Regions from separate parts of the Homo sapiens genome. Here all the other regions are linked to region 2. The links are contacts of gene promoters, found by promoter capture Hi-C in blood cells and fetal thymus (Javierre and others, 2016). All regions are on one chromosome and are shown on one strand. The core of a region is centred on a gene start or on the middle of the fragment in contact, and the rest is flanking DNA. Distances in the headings are between cores, read along the strand shown. Region 1 overlaps AFF4 (ALF transcription elongation factor 4). Region 2 holds the start of RAD50 (RAD50 double strand break repair protein). Region 3 holds the start of HSPA4 (heat shock protein family A (Hsp70) member 4).

What was found. Contacts are between HindIII fragments. The CHiCAGO score rates a contact against its expected background, and 5 or more counts as called.
Region 1: a fragment that was not itself captured here is called in contact with the fragment with the promoter of RAD50 in region 2 in 1 of 17 cell types (erythroblasts); the score reaches 5.1 in erythroblasts.
Region 3: a contact is called between the fragment with the promoter of HSPA4 here and the fragment with the promoter of RAD50 in region 2, in 1 of 17 cell types (fetal thymus). The highest score is 6.4, in fetal thymus.

Annotation. Positions count from the first base shown.
Region 1 is chr5:132,882,167-132,885,995 of GRCh38, forward strand. AFF4 (ALF transcription elongation factor 4) reads right to left here. Exons shown (of 21, transcript NM_014423.4): 19 at 2,910-2,953; 20 at 1,174-1,394. Among named protein-coding and RNA genes, the nearest start is that of LEAP2, 10 kb to the left of the region's middle. The HindIII fragment of the contact is 502 bases long and covers 1,414-1,915 here.
Region 2 is chr5:132,554,447-132,558,397 of GRCh38, forward strand. RAD50 (RAD50 double strand break repair protein) reads left to right here and starts at 2,531. Exons shown (of 25, transcript NM_005732.4): 1 at 2,531-3,007. The coding sequence starts at 2,879. It also overlaps a transcript of IL5 not described here. RefSeq lists an enhancer at 2,154-2,814. The HindIII fragment of the contact is 3,439 bases long and covers 2,289-3,951 here.
Region 3 is chr5:133,049,808-133,053,658 of GRCh38, forward strand. HSPA4 (heat shock protein family A (Hsp70) member 4) reads left to right here and starts at 2,206. Exons shown (of 19, transcript NM_002154.4): 1 at 2,206-2,550. The coding sequence starts at 2,444. RefSeq lists enhancers at 1,493-2,455, 1,642-1,691, 1,762-1,811, 2,002-2,181, 3,420-3,851. The HindIII fragment of the contact is 9,846 bases long and covers 1,418-3,851 here.

The DNA of each region.
Region 1 (3,829 bases), core at 415-2,914, 330 kb after region 2:
TGTGCCACAGCCTGGGCAGCCTGGGTGACAGAGTAAAACCCTGTCTCAAAAAAAAAAAAAAAAAAGTTGGGATTCCACTTTTACCTTTCACCATTGCCTCTCTTTAGGGATAGGAATCTTTCATTTTCATCTGATTACCTGTTCACGCTGTAAGTATTTAAATGTACTCTGTGACAAAATGACACTTGATTGGCTAATGTAGTGTTTCTCTGTAAAGGATCTGCCTAAAGAGAAGCTGCATGCACATATTTGCTAATAACATCTACTAAATAAAATGGTGGTTATACAGTACTTTCCACTAAGGTCTTCAAAGACTTTATAATTCTCCATGTCCTTGGTTTGGGAAATAATAAACTTTTAAAGGGCAAAGCCTCAAACAACCTAATTTTAAAGAATGTTAAGAATTCTGGCCGGACGTGGTGGCTCACACCTGTAATCCCAGCACTTTGGGAGGCTGAGATGGGCAGATCACGAGGTCAGCAGTTCAAGACCAGCCTGGTTCACATGGTGAAACCCCATCTCTACTAAAAATACAAAAATTAGCCGGGCATGGTGGCGGGCACCTGTAATCCCAGCTACTCAGGAGGCTGAGCAGGAGAATCACTTGAAACCGGAAGGTGGAAGCTGCAGTGAGTCGAGATCGTGCCACTGTGCTCCAGCCTGGGCAACAAAAGCGAAACTCCATCTCAAAAAAAAAAAAAAAAAAATTTCTATTCATTCCCTAGTCTCCTTTATTTCACAGGTTTCTTCCAATATACCTAAAAATCCAGTATGAGCATGCTTTCTTATACATTAACCTTCTCAGATGTACAGATGTTTGGATGTAATCTTATGCCTATTGCCAAATTTACTGTTAACCATCCTAGGGTAGGACATATATTTTATTACTTTTATGGTATGAGCTGCATTTAATGTGCCAGAATATAAGCACATTTGTCTTAGTCCAAGAACTATTTTCAGTTTAGTTTTGTCACCAGAATCATGAGAGGTATCTTTTGACCAAATTCAGTTTCATTTATTGTTTAACTGCTAAGCAATGAAGACTATTAACAAACAGATTATCATTAACTCTAAATAATAAAACTAAATACAGACTAAACGCTTACTTAACTAAATTATAAAAGTTCCTTCTAACAATTCCATCCCTTGAAGTTTATCCAGAAACCTACCTACCTTTTTGCTCTTTGGAAAGCTGTTCAGCTTGGTCCCAAATTTCGGTGGCATAGAGGAAGTTGGATGTGACCTGAACATAGCTGGCTGCCATCTGGTGGATCTTCTGTGGAATGGTCACTGAAGAACCACTTGCAGAAGCACTACTGGCCCCAGATGAATAATTTCCTGAATTGCCTGGTGACAGCTTTGGAGAAACAGGGGAAGGCATCCCCACAGCTTTGCTACACAACAGAAATAGGAAGCTTGTTCATATGGACATGGTAAGCATTATAAAATCAAGTACTACTAGCTCTTTCTACATGAAAGCATTTAAAATGTAAAGATTCTCTTAAACTAGATGGGTTTTCAGAGAGCTACAATTTCTTCTAAATAAGTACTATAATCTTGTAATTCATAATCTTGTTATCTTAGAATCTGTAGCCTTTGTTTTAATGAATAACAACAAAACAAGAGATGGACAATAACTGAAGAAGTCATGTACCTTGTTACAGTTCAAAGACTTAAAAGCCAGATCCCCTCACTCTCTGCTCAACACTTTCCATCTGTTCGGGCATATAATTACATATTTTTTATACTGTTTTGTAGAAAGTTTGGTGGAATTCACATTTAACCTAAAAAACTGTGGTAGAAGATGGGAACATCTTTTATTGAACTCCACAATTTCTGACACTTTCCTAGTTTAACCAAATTACTCAGAGGTAACAAAGAGGTACAGCTCTCTCAAGCAACTGTAATCACCCCAAGCTTCCTGCCAATTAAATATTTCTTAGAAAACATACATGTTGAAATCTGGCAGGTTCATTTCAGGAGTATTAAAATTTGTGAAATGTTCAAGACTATGATCACACACTAAAAGAAAGGAAAAATCAAAAGTTGGGGTAAAAATAAACTTGTGTATACACATATATACATATTTTGGAGACACTCATGCTCTGTCACCCAAGCTGGAGTGCAGTGGCATGACCTCGACTTACTGCAACCTCCACGCCTCCCTGGTTCCAATGATTCTCCTGCCTCAGCCTCCAGAGTAGCTAGGATTACAGGCGCGCACGACACCACACCCGGCTAATTTTTGTATTTTTAGCACAGATGGGGTTTCACCATGTTGGCCAGGCTGGTCTTGAACTCCTGACCTTGTGATCTGCCCACCTCGGCCTCTCAAAGTGCTGGGATTACAGGCGTGAGCTACCATGCCCGGCTTGTTTGTATTTTTATCTGCACTTTTAGCATTATAAACTTATGTAAGAAAATACACACAGGACAAAGAATGTCAATTCTTATAAACATAATAACTGAACAGATACAATTTAAAAGGTTCCATGGTGTTTTTTATCCTTTGGGAGATAGGTGGGATGAAAGTGACGTGGAGATGAAGGAGAAATCACAATCATGTCATTGTTACTAAATTCTGGCAGTGCCAAGATCTGACTAAAGATAAGCCTGCTGTGATAAGTCCAAGTAACTATGGAAATCAAACTGTGAAAAGGGTTGAGTGCTAGTAAAAACTCAGATTTCTTAACAGGTGAAACGTCTCATATCTAATCTTTATGATTATGTTCATTTATATTTTCAATTCCTAAAAAATACAGAGAAAAAATTATAACTTCTAAAAATATTTTATCAGAGATGGTTTTACTTATTTAAAAAGTAGTCATCTTTCCATTTTTGGAAATTGGACCATACTCATTTCACTTTTATTGCCACAATAATATTTTACATAATAAAATTTTACCTACCTTCCCAAGCCAGGCGATGGTGCTTGAGAATTATTATAAGAATTCTGTGGAAAAAGTAAAATGTACTTAACAACAACAAAAACCACCACTACTTTAAGAAGTTCTAAATATATTTAAAAGCTTTGGGCAAGAGCTCATCGTGAGCAGCTGTAAATATTTAAGACACCAAAATACGTGTGTGTGTGTGTGTGTGTGTGTGTGTAAAAGTACAAAAGAAATAAATTATTAGGTGAGAGCTGGGTGTTCTGGAAGACTTCACAGAAGAGGCAAGGAAATAATGAGTAACACATGGATAAAGGGAAGGGGGATACATCCCAGCTACTCCCAGCTACCTGGGAGTAGCTGCAGTGAGCCATGATCGTTTTTTTTAAAAAACTCCCTCTTAAAAAAGGGGTGGGTGGGTGGGTGGGTGGGGAGAGGGGAGAGATGAATCATACTATGCACAAAGGCTGCAGAAAAGACAGTGTATGTGCCCCATGCAGTTTGCCTAAAGCAGAGGTTTAGACAAGGAACAAGAGACCCCTTGGGGCCAGGGTAAGGAGTTTAAACTTGACCCAGCAGGCAACTACTGAAGGGTTCCAAGTCATAATCAGAGGCAGATTTTAGGAGGATTTATGTGGTACTGGCCTGAAGAAACATAGGAAAATCTTTTAGGAAACTAAGATAGTAGTCAGAAAAGGATGGCATGAAAACAAAAGACTTTTTGTTTGTTTTTGAGACAGAGTCTCTCTCTCTGTCACCAGGCTGGAGTGCAGTGGCATGACCTCGGCTCACTGCAGCCTCCGCCTCCAGGGTTCAAGCGATTCTCCTGCCTCAGCCTCCCAAGTAGCTGGGACTACAGGCGTGTGGCACCATGCCTGGCTAATTTTTGTATATTTAGTAGAGATGGGGTTTCACCATGTTGGCCAAGATGGTCTCAA
Region 2 (3,951 bases), core at 1,281-3,780:
TGATGCTACTAATAATTATTGAAATGCAAATCAAAATTACAATGAGGTATCACTTCACACTCATCAGGATGGCTACCATAAAAAAACATAAAATAACAAGTGTTGGCAAGCATATGTAGAAATTGAAACCCTTATGCACTATTGGTGGGAATGTCAAATGGTACAACCACTGTGGAAAACAGTATGGCAGTTCCTCAAATAATTAAAAATTGAATTACTGTATGATCTAATAATTCCACTTCTGGGTATATACCCAAAAGAATTGAAAGCAGGGTCCAGAAGTGACATTTGTACACCAATATATATAGCCACACTATTCACAATAGCTAAAACGTGAAAGTAACCCAAATGTCCATCAATAGATGGATAAGCAAAATGTGATGTGTATTGTAATGAATCTTATTCAACCTTAAAAACGACCTGAATTCTGATATATGCTACAGTGGTCCCCAACCTTTTTGGCACCAGGGACCAGTCTCACGGAAGACAGTTTTTCCACAGACAGGAGTGGGGTGATGGTTTTGGGATGAAACTGTTCGACCTCACATCATCAGGCATTAGATTCTCATAAGGAATGGGCAAGCTAGATCCCTTGCATGGGGCAACCTACATCTTTCTCATGGGCAGTTCAAAATACGGTTTGTGCTCCTATGAGAATCTAATGCCCCCACTGATCTGAGGCCCAGCTCGGGTGGTAATGTTCACTCACCTGCTGCTCACCTCCTACTGTGCCACCAGGTTCCTAACAGGCCAGGTATGCATACTGGTCAGTGACCCAGGGGTTGGGGACTGAGCTGCAACATGGATGAACCTTGAGGACATTATAAGTGAAATGAGCCAGTCACAAAAAGATAAATACTGTATGATTCCACTTATATGAGGTACTTAGTAAAAAATTATAGAGACAGTAAGTAGAATGTTGGTTGTCAGGGTTTGGAGGATGTGGGGAGGAAAGGGTTATTGTTTAATGGGTAGTTTGTTTTGCAAAGTGAAAAGATTTGTAGAGGTTGAAAGGTGGTGACGGTTGTACGTGAGTATACTTAACACCACTGAAATGTACACTTGGTTAAGATAGTAAATTCTTTTTGAGACGGAGTCTCGCTCTGTTGCCCAGGCTGGAGTGCAGTGGTGCGGTCTCGGCTCACTGCAAGCTCCGCCTCCCGGGTTCATGCCATACTCCTGCCTCAGCCTCCTGAGTAGCTGGGACCATCGGCGCCTGCCACCATGCCCGGCTAATTTTTTGTGTTTTCAGTAGAGACGGGGTTTCACCGTGTTAGCCAGGATGGTCTTCATTTCCTGACCTCGTGATCCACCCGTCTCGGCCTCCCAAAGTGCTGGGATTACAGGCGTGAGCCACCGCGCCTGGCCAAGACAGTAAATTTTATGTGTATTTTACAATTTTTAAAATAAAAAAAGGTCTTTCGTCTTTTCCCATTGTTTTATTACATTTGCTTTGCCAAGTAAGACATTCCTATATAATTTTAATGTTTTGTTCCATTAGTTATTTTAACTATTTTGTAATAACTGACACTTTCCGGTTTTTTTTAACCTGGTACAGCAAGAGACTATTTCTCACTGGTCTTCCCCACTTGCATCCTTTGGCACATACATTTATGTATTAGGTTCTGTAAATTATTTGCTTGGGATTGTATGACTGGAGAAACATTTCCTACATTTTTCCAAGGCAGGCAGAGGCAAATTATACCACTACAGTAATTCCAAATTTGTGTTTCATTTAAATGTCCTCCACTATTGTTTCAGTAATTTTTATGTATGTTTCTCTAGGCCCTTAAATGTGATATCCCTCCATTAAGTTTGTTTCCAAGAAAGCAATATTCTCAGTTACTTCTGAGACAGGTAACTTCTCTTTCCCTTATTTTTAAAGATATCTATTGCTGGGAGCACTGATCGGAATGGATTACCTCTACATTCTTCATATTTGCAGACTGCTTTTAGTTTTAGTTCCCAGACTTTTGGTCTTAAAGACGCCTTTACACTAAAAAATTACGGGGGACCTCAAAGAGCGTGTACGTGAGTTATAATTATCAACATTTACTCAATTAGAAATTAAAATTGGTATTTCTAAGCGCAAGAATACACATGCGCACATTCCATTAACCGCCACTGCAATGGCGTCATCACATGTTATGTGATCACTGGAAATTACTACACGAACGTTAGAGAGAGAATGAGAATGAAAAGGAAAATAGTTTTGACACGAACTGACCCCGCTTCCTGGGTCTCCAATCCACCCCACCACTACCCCCATTCCAGGAGTCCCAGGATCAAGCTTTGGGAAGCGCCATCCGTCACAGGTCTTGGTCTCCCCTTCCAAAAGTCAGTGCCTCTCCAGGCTGCCCATCCCCAGCAAAGATCCGGAAGTCCGCTGCCCCTGGCAACAGCACCCAGCACCTAGCCCTCTGCTTCGCCGTACCGCACCCGGAAGTCGGAGCTGCGCACGCACCGCGGGACTCTGATTTCCCGGCGTGCCCCAGGAGAGCGGCGTGGACGCGTGCGGGCCTAGAGGCCCACGTGATCCGCAGGGCGGCCGAGGCAGGAAGCTGTGAGTGCGCGGTTGCGGGGTCGCATTGTGGCTACGGCTTTGCGTCCCCGGCGGGCAGCCCCAGGCTGGTCCCCGCCTCCGCTCTCCCCACCGGCGGGGAAAGCAGCTGGTGTGGGAGGAAAGGCTCCATCCCCCGCCCCCTCTCTCCCGCTGTTGGCTGGCAGGATCTTTTGGCAGTCCTGTGGCCTCGCTCCCCGCCCGGATCCTCCTGACCCTGAGATTCGCGGGTCTCACGTCCCGTGCACGCCTTGCTTCGGCCTCAGTTAAGCCTTTGTGGGCTCCAGGTCCCTGGTGAGATTAGAAACGTTTGCAAACATGTCCCGGATCGAAAAGATGAGCATTCTGGGCGTGCGGAGTTTTGGAATAGAGGACAAAGATAAGCAAATTATCACTTTCTTCAGCCCCCTTACAATTTTGGTTGGACCCAATGGGGCGGGAAAGACGGTAAGTCTTCAGTAGCCGCCTTCAGTTTACAGGTCGCTACATCTTTCGGAGAATAAAATGGGAAGTTGAGAACTCTCCTTAGGAGCAGAAGCGTCCCTAGGGCTCCACAGGTGTAGGCCCTTAAAGTGCCTTAGGGTGTGGCCTGCAGGCTACAGCGACCTTAGGAGTTTGCCTGAAGCAGTCTCGGAAGGATGTCCGGACCTGGCCTGGGGACAAGGTTTACTTAAGAATCCCACGATACCGGGAGCTGTCGCCGCTCACTCAGAGTTCAGTTCCCACTGGATGCCCTTTGGTCTGTATTGATGTTTTTAACGCTGTCTCCTTGCTTTCAAAGCATAGCATTCACTTCCCAGTAGTTGTCCCATACAAGAATTCCTTTAAAAGTTATAAAATGATACATACATGACTAAAGAGTTTCCAAGTATGCCAACTGTCCAGACATAATACATGGAAAATAAATAAATTCAAAATGTAACTGATGTAGTGGGGCTTAACTTGGAAAACTTCTCTTCTTAAAACTCAGTCAAAAATTTAACGTTGGTGCACGACTGACTTTTTTTTTTTTTTAAAGCCGTGGGAATATTTATAAATTTGAATGGAAAGAATAACCAAGAGGCATTCTGGTCAGGAATAGTGGCTTAAGAAAAAGCAAGACGATGTCAGTATAGCAGGGAGAAGAGTCTAAAGGAAGGATTTGTGAAGAGTGTAGAAAGAGAGAAGGTTGAGAATTGAATGCCAAACTTGTTTACTTTTGTTTTTGTAAAAATGTTATTTGTTGAATGCTTGTTATGTACTTAGGATTGTACTAAATACTAGCAGAAGGGAGAGTAGTACTGTATAGTGTTTATGAGGACTGGCTGCCTCAATACAGCTTTTTCGCTTCATTTATTAGTTGTCTGATTGTTTGCGAGTGACCTCACTGCTCTGTGCCTTAGTTTTCTCAT
Region 3 (3,851 bases), core at 956-3,455, 500 kb after region 2:
AACTGAGATAAACAGATGGAGACAGGACTCTGTCATAATTAAGGTCAACAGTGTGCTTGGTATTATTGATATTGCCCCTAGGTAGGAGAAAAACAGAGGAAGGAAGGTCAAGGTCAACCTAACTTAAAAAAACTTTAAAAAATTGTGGTGAAATATACATAAAATTTACCATTTTCATCATTTTTAAATGTACAAATCTGTCACTGATCATGCACATTGTTATGCAACTACCACCAGCATCTATCTCCAGAACTTTCTCATCTTCCCAAACTGAAACTCTGTATCCCTTAACTCTCCATTTCACTCTACTTGTGAAACCGCTTTTCTGTCTTTATGTAGTTTATTGTAGGTGCCTGATACAAGTGGAATCATATTAAATTTTGAATATAAAATTAAAAATTAAAAAAAATTAATTTTGATTTGTTTGGCTTTCCACTTAGCGTATTTTCAAGGTTCATTCATGCTGTAGCATTTATCAGACTTTCATTCCTTTGTCTTTTCAAAGCTGTATAATGTACTGTTACGCGTATACACTAAATTTAGAAAACTCATTCATCTGTCAATGGACATGTGGATTGTTTCCTCCTTTTAGCTACCGTGAATAAACTACTATGAACATGGGTATACAATGTACAAATATGTCCCTGCTCTCGTTTTTCCAAAGGCTGTTCCTGGCTGCCTCTACTCTTTTTATTCCCAGTACCCTTTTACAGGTAGCACCTGGTACTTGTCTTTGAAGAATTAACAGGTTTTAGTTAGGCAAAATGTGAGAACAGTGTGGCCATTTGCAAGTTTTAATGGTAATCAACCCGGGTTTGGGGTTGCTCCTATAGAGTGAAGTACCTCCGGAGGTGGCAGGAAATGCAGGTATTTAAAGGGAAGGGCATACCAGGGCAATGTAATTTCTTCTTTGCTCATTCACTTTTAAAATGGCTGAAGGGCAGGTACTCTAGCCTTGAGACCTTCAACTCATGATGTACCCTCCAGCAACGGAGAATTTCTTTTTAGTCCTTAAACTATGGTCTCTATTGCTAGTTTTCCAAACTTGAACACAGCCTTTTCCTTTTCTGGGAAGTTGTCCTAGTCTCCACCATTCTGTGCATATAGCACTCGCCATTCTGTACTGGGGTCACCTTTACTTGTTTAGCCACCCTCATGATGGGGATGATCCAGGTTTTGCAGAGGTGAAACTTATATACCATTGGGGGGCCCTACAAATACACAAAACAAATAATTAAAACGACAAATCACAACACATTACTAGAGACTTGGAGATTCAGATTCTCCTTAGATCTCTCTGGGTAATTTATTAGAAATGCTTACATAGATTTGCTTCCTAATCTCAAGCTGGCTTCCCCTCTCCACAACTCAGCAACTATCTATTCTCCCAGGAGGCCATACAAGCGAGGGGCCCTGAAGCTTAACATTTATTAACTTCATGTAAAGGTCTGAGCGGACCTTTCAGGCCAGGCAGCGTGTCACTTGCCTGTGTTCCTTGTTAGGGCCTACCACCGGGTAGGTGCTTGGAATGTGCTGTGGATTAAAGGCTTAAATCCTGCGGGCCCCTCAATCTGATCTAAGGACATGAGTGGCTTAGAGAACGGCGCAACAAGGCTAAGCGAAAGAAAACAAAGCGGTGTGGCTGGGAGTGGGCTCCTTCCCTCCGCTGGTGAGGGTGCGATCTTAGACTCTTGAGAGAACCCGACATAAAGGCCGCGTTCCAATGGCGGCCTTCTCCCCTACCGGCCAACCTGCCCCGAAAAGAGCAGAAGGCACCCTGCGGGATCTGCAGATCAGCTTGCGTCTCATTCTGGGGCACCGACACGGTGGAATGCAAGACACCCCACTACCGGAAGTTTCTTTGATGTTAAGAAAAACGGCGGAAGTAGGCCGCAGCGCTTCCTCAGTATAGTGCCTCGAGCTGGCTCGCCTACTTTCTACGGTAAAGGGAGGTGCTCCACATCTCTATGCAGCTGTGCAGCGCCGCAGGTTCCATGCGCAGGCTCGGTTGGCTAAATGCGCTTTCCAGCCATCTTTCAGCCACCCAGTCCTTTCCCAGGTTCTCGAGCCAGGACGTGACGTATTCAGACGTACTGGGGGCGGGGCCTCAAGGGGAAAAGCGCCTGAGCCGGGATATCGCGAGAACATCCCGTTCTTTCGTAGCTCTGGTGCTGCGGCTCCGCTCTCGTCGCAACGAGATCTTTCGAGATCTTCTCCGCCCCCGCTACCGGCGCCTCCTCTGCGGCCACTGAGCCGGAGCCGGCCTGAGCAGCGCTCTCGGTTGCAGTACCCACTGGAAGGACTTAGGCGCTCGCGTGGACACCGCAAGCCCCTCAGTAGCCTCGGCCCAAGAGGCCTGCTTTCCACTCGCTAGCCCCGCCGGGGGTCCGTGTCCTGTCTCGGTGGCCGGACCCGGGCCCGAGCCCGAGCAGTAGCCGGCGCCATGTCGGTGGTGGGCATAGACCTGGGCTTCCAGAGCTGCTACGTCGCTGTGGCCCGCGCCGGCGGCATCGAGACTATCGCTAATGAGTATAGCGACCGCTGCACGCCGTAAGTGTGGGCCGGGCCTGCCGCGTGCACTGGGGTTAGGAGATAATGCTTGTTCCAGTCTGGGACCCTCGCTGCTTGGGGAACGCGGGCCGAGGAGTCGCCTCCGTTCCGAGCCGAGGTCCCGGTAGGTCAGGGACCCCCAGTAGGTATTAGGACACTAGGGGCCGCGGCCCACTATGAGCGTGGGTGTGTGCTAAGCGCGAGGGCCTTTTCCCCGGTGGCCCGTCGGCCGAAGAAAGGCTTCTGGCCGGTACTCGGACCAGCGGAGGGCACGGGTAGGAACTGGAAGGACTGCAGGCCTAGGATGTAAACGGATCGCGGTCCTTTTCTTGAGGGCAGAGACCAGGCCCAGGTCGTACTGAGTCTTTTGAGTCCAACAGAAAGCTCAGAACTTTGCACACAGCAGGCGCTTAATAATAGTTGAATCGAACGGGTTCTGGGGCTTGCCAGCCGCGAGACCGTGGAGCGGTCAGCGTCCCACGTGAGTGGGGGCGGGGCAGCGCCCGGAAGAGAGCGAGCTGGAGCAGCCTCAGGCACGGGTTCCGGATGGACTCGGGGTCTTGAGATTGGGTTGGCACGGATAGGAATTTAATAAAATCGGTGCTCTTATGATAACTTTGCAATCGCTTTTGTTTTCCACATTATTTCGGGATATTGTGCTATATTGGGTCACTCTCTGTTTTGTGCGCGTTAACCCCTCAATAGGGTTGCACTTTAACGATAATGCATTCTAACCAGTGTGTTGGCCACAATTGTTAGTGGCTCAAGGGCCCGCCTTGACTTCTAGAACCCATAGTAAGTTTTGGGACCAGCATAGACACAGTTCTAAAAAATGGTGGGTCACTCAGGTCTTTCACTGGTTACAGTGTCTGCCTTTTGAATACTTGTAGATACATTTTAATCCGTTGTCGTGTTCTTAGACAAAATCTTGTAAGAAGTTCTGTATTATTTGCCATTCAGGGTCTCTCTTCTTTTTTTTTTTTTTTTTTTCTTTTTTGAGACAGACAGGGTCTCACTCTGGCTGCCCAGGCTGGAGTGCAGTGGTGCGATCTTGGTTCACTGCAGCCTCGACCTCCCTGGCTCCTGGCTCAGGTGATTCTCCCACCTCAGCCTCCTGAGTAGCTGGCGTTGCAGGCGTGCGCCACCATGCTTGGCTAATTTTATTTATTTTTAGTAGAAATCGGGTTTCACTATGTCACTCAGGATGGTCTCGAACTTCTGGACTCAAGCAGTCCTCCAGCCTCGGCCTTCTGGAGTACTGGGCTTACAGGCATGAACCACCGTGCCCTGCCCAGGGGCTC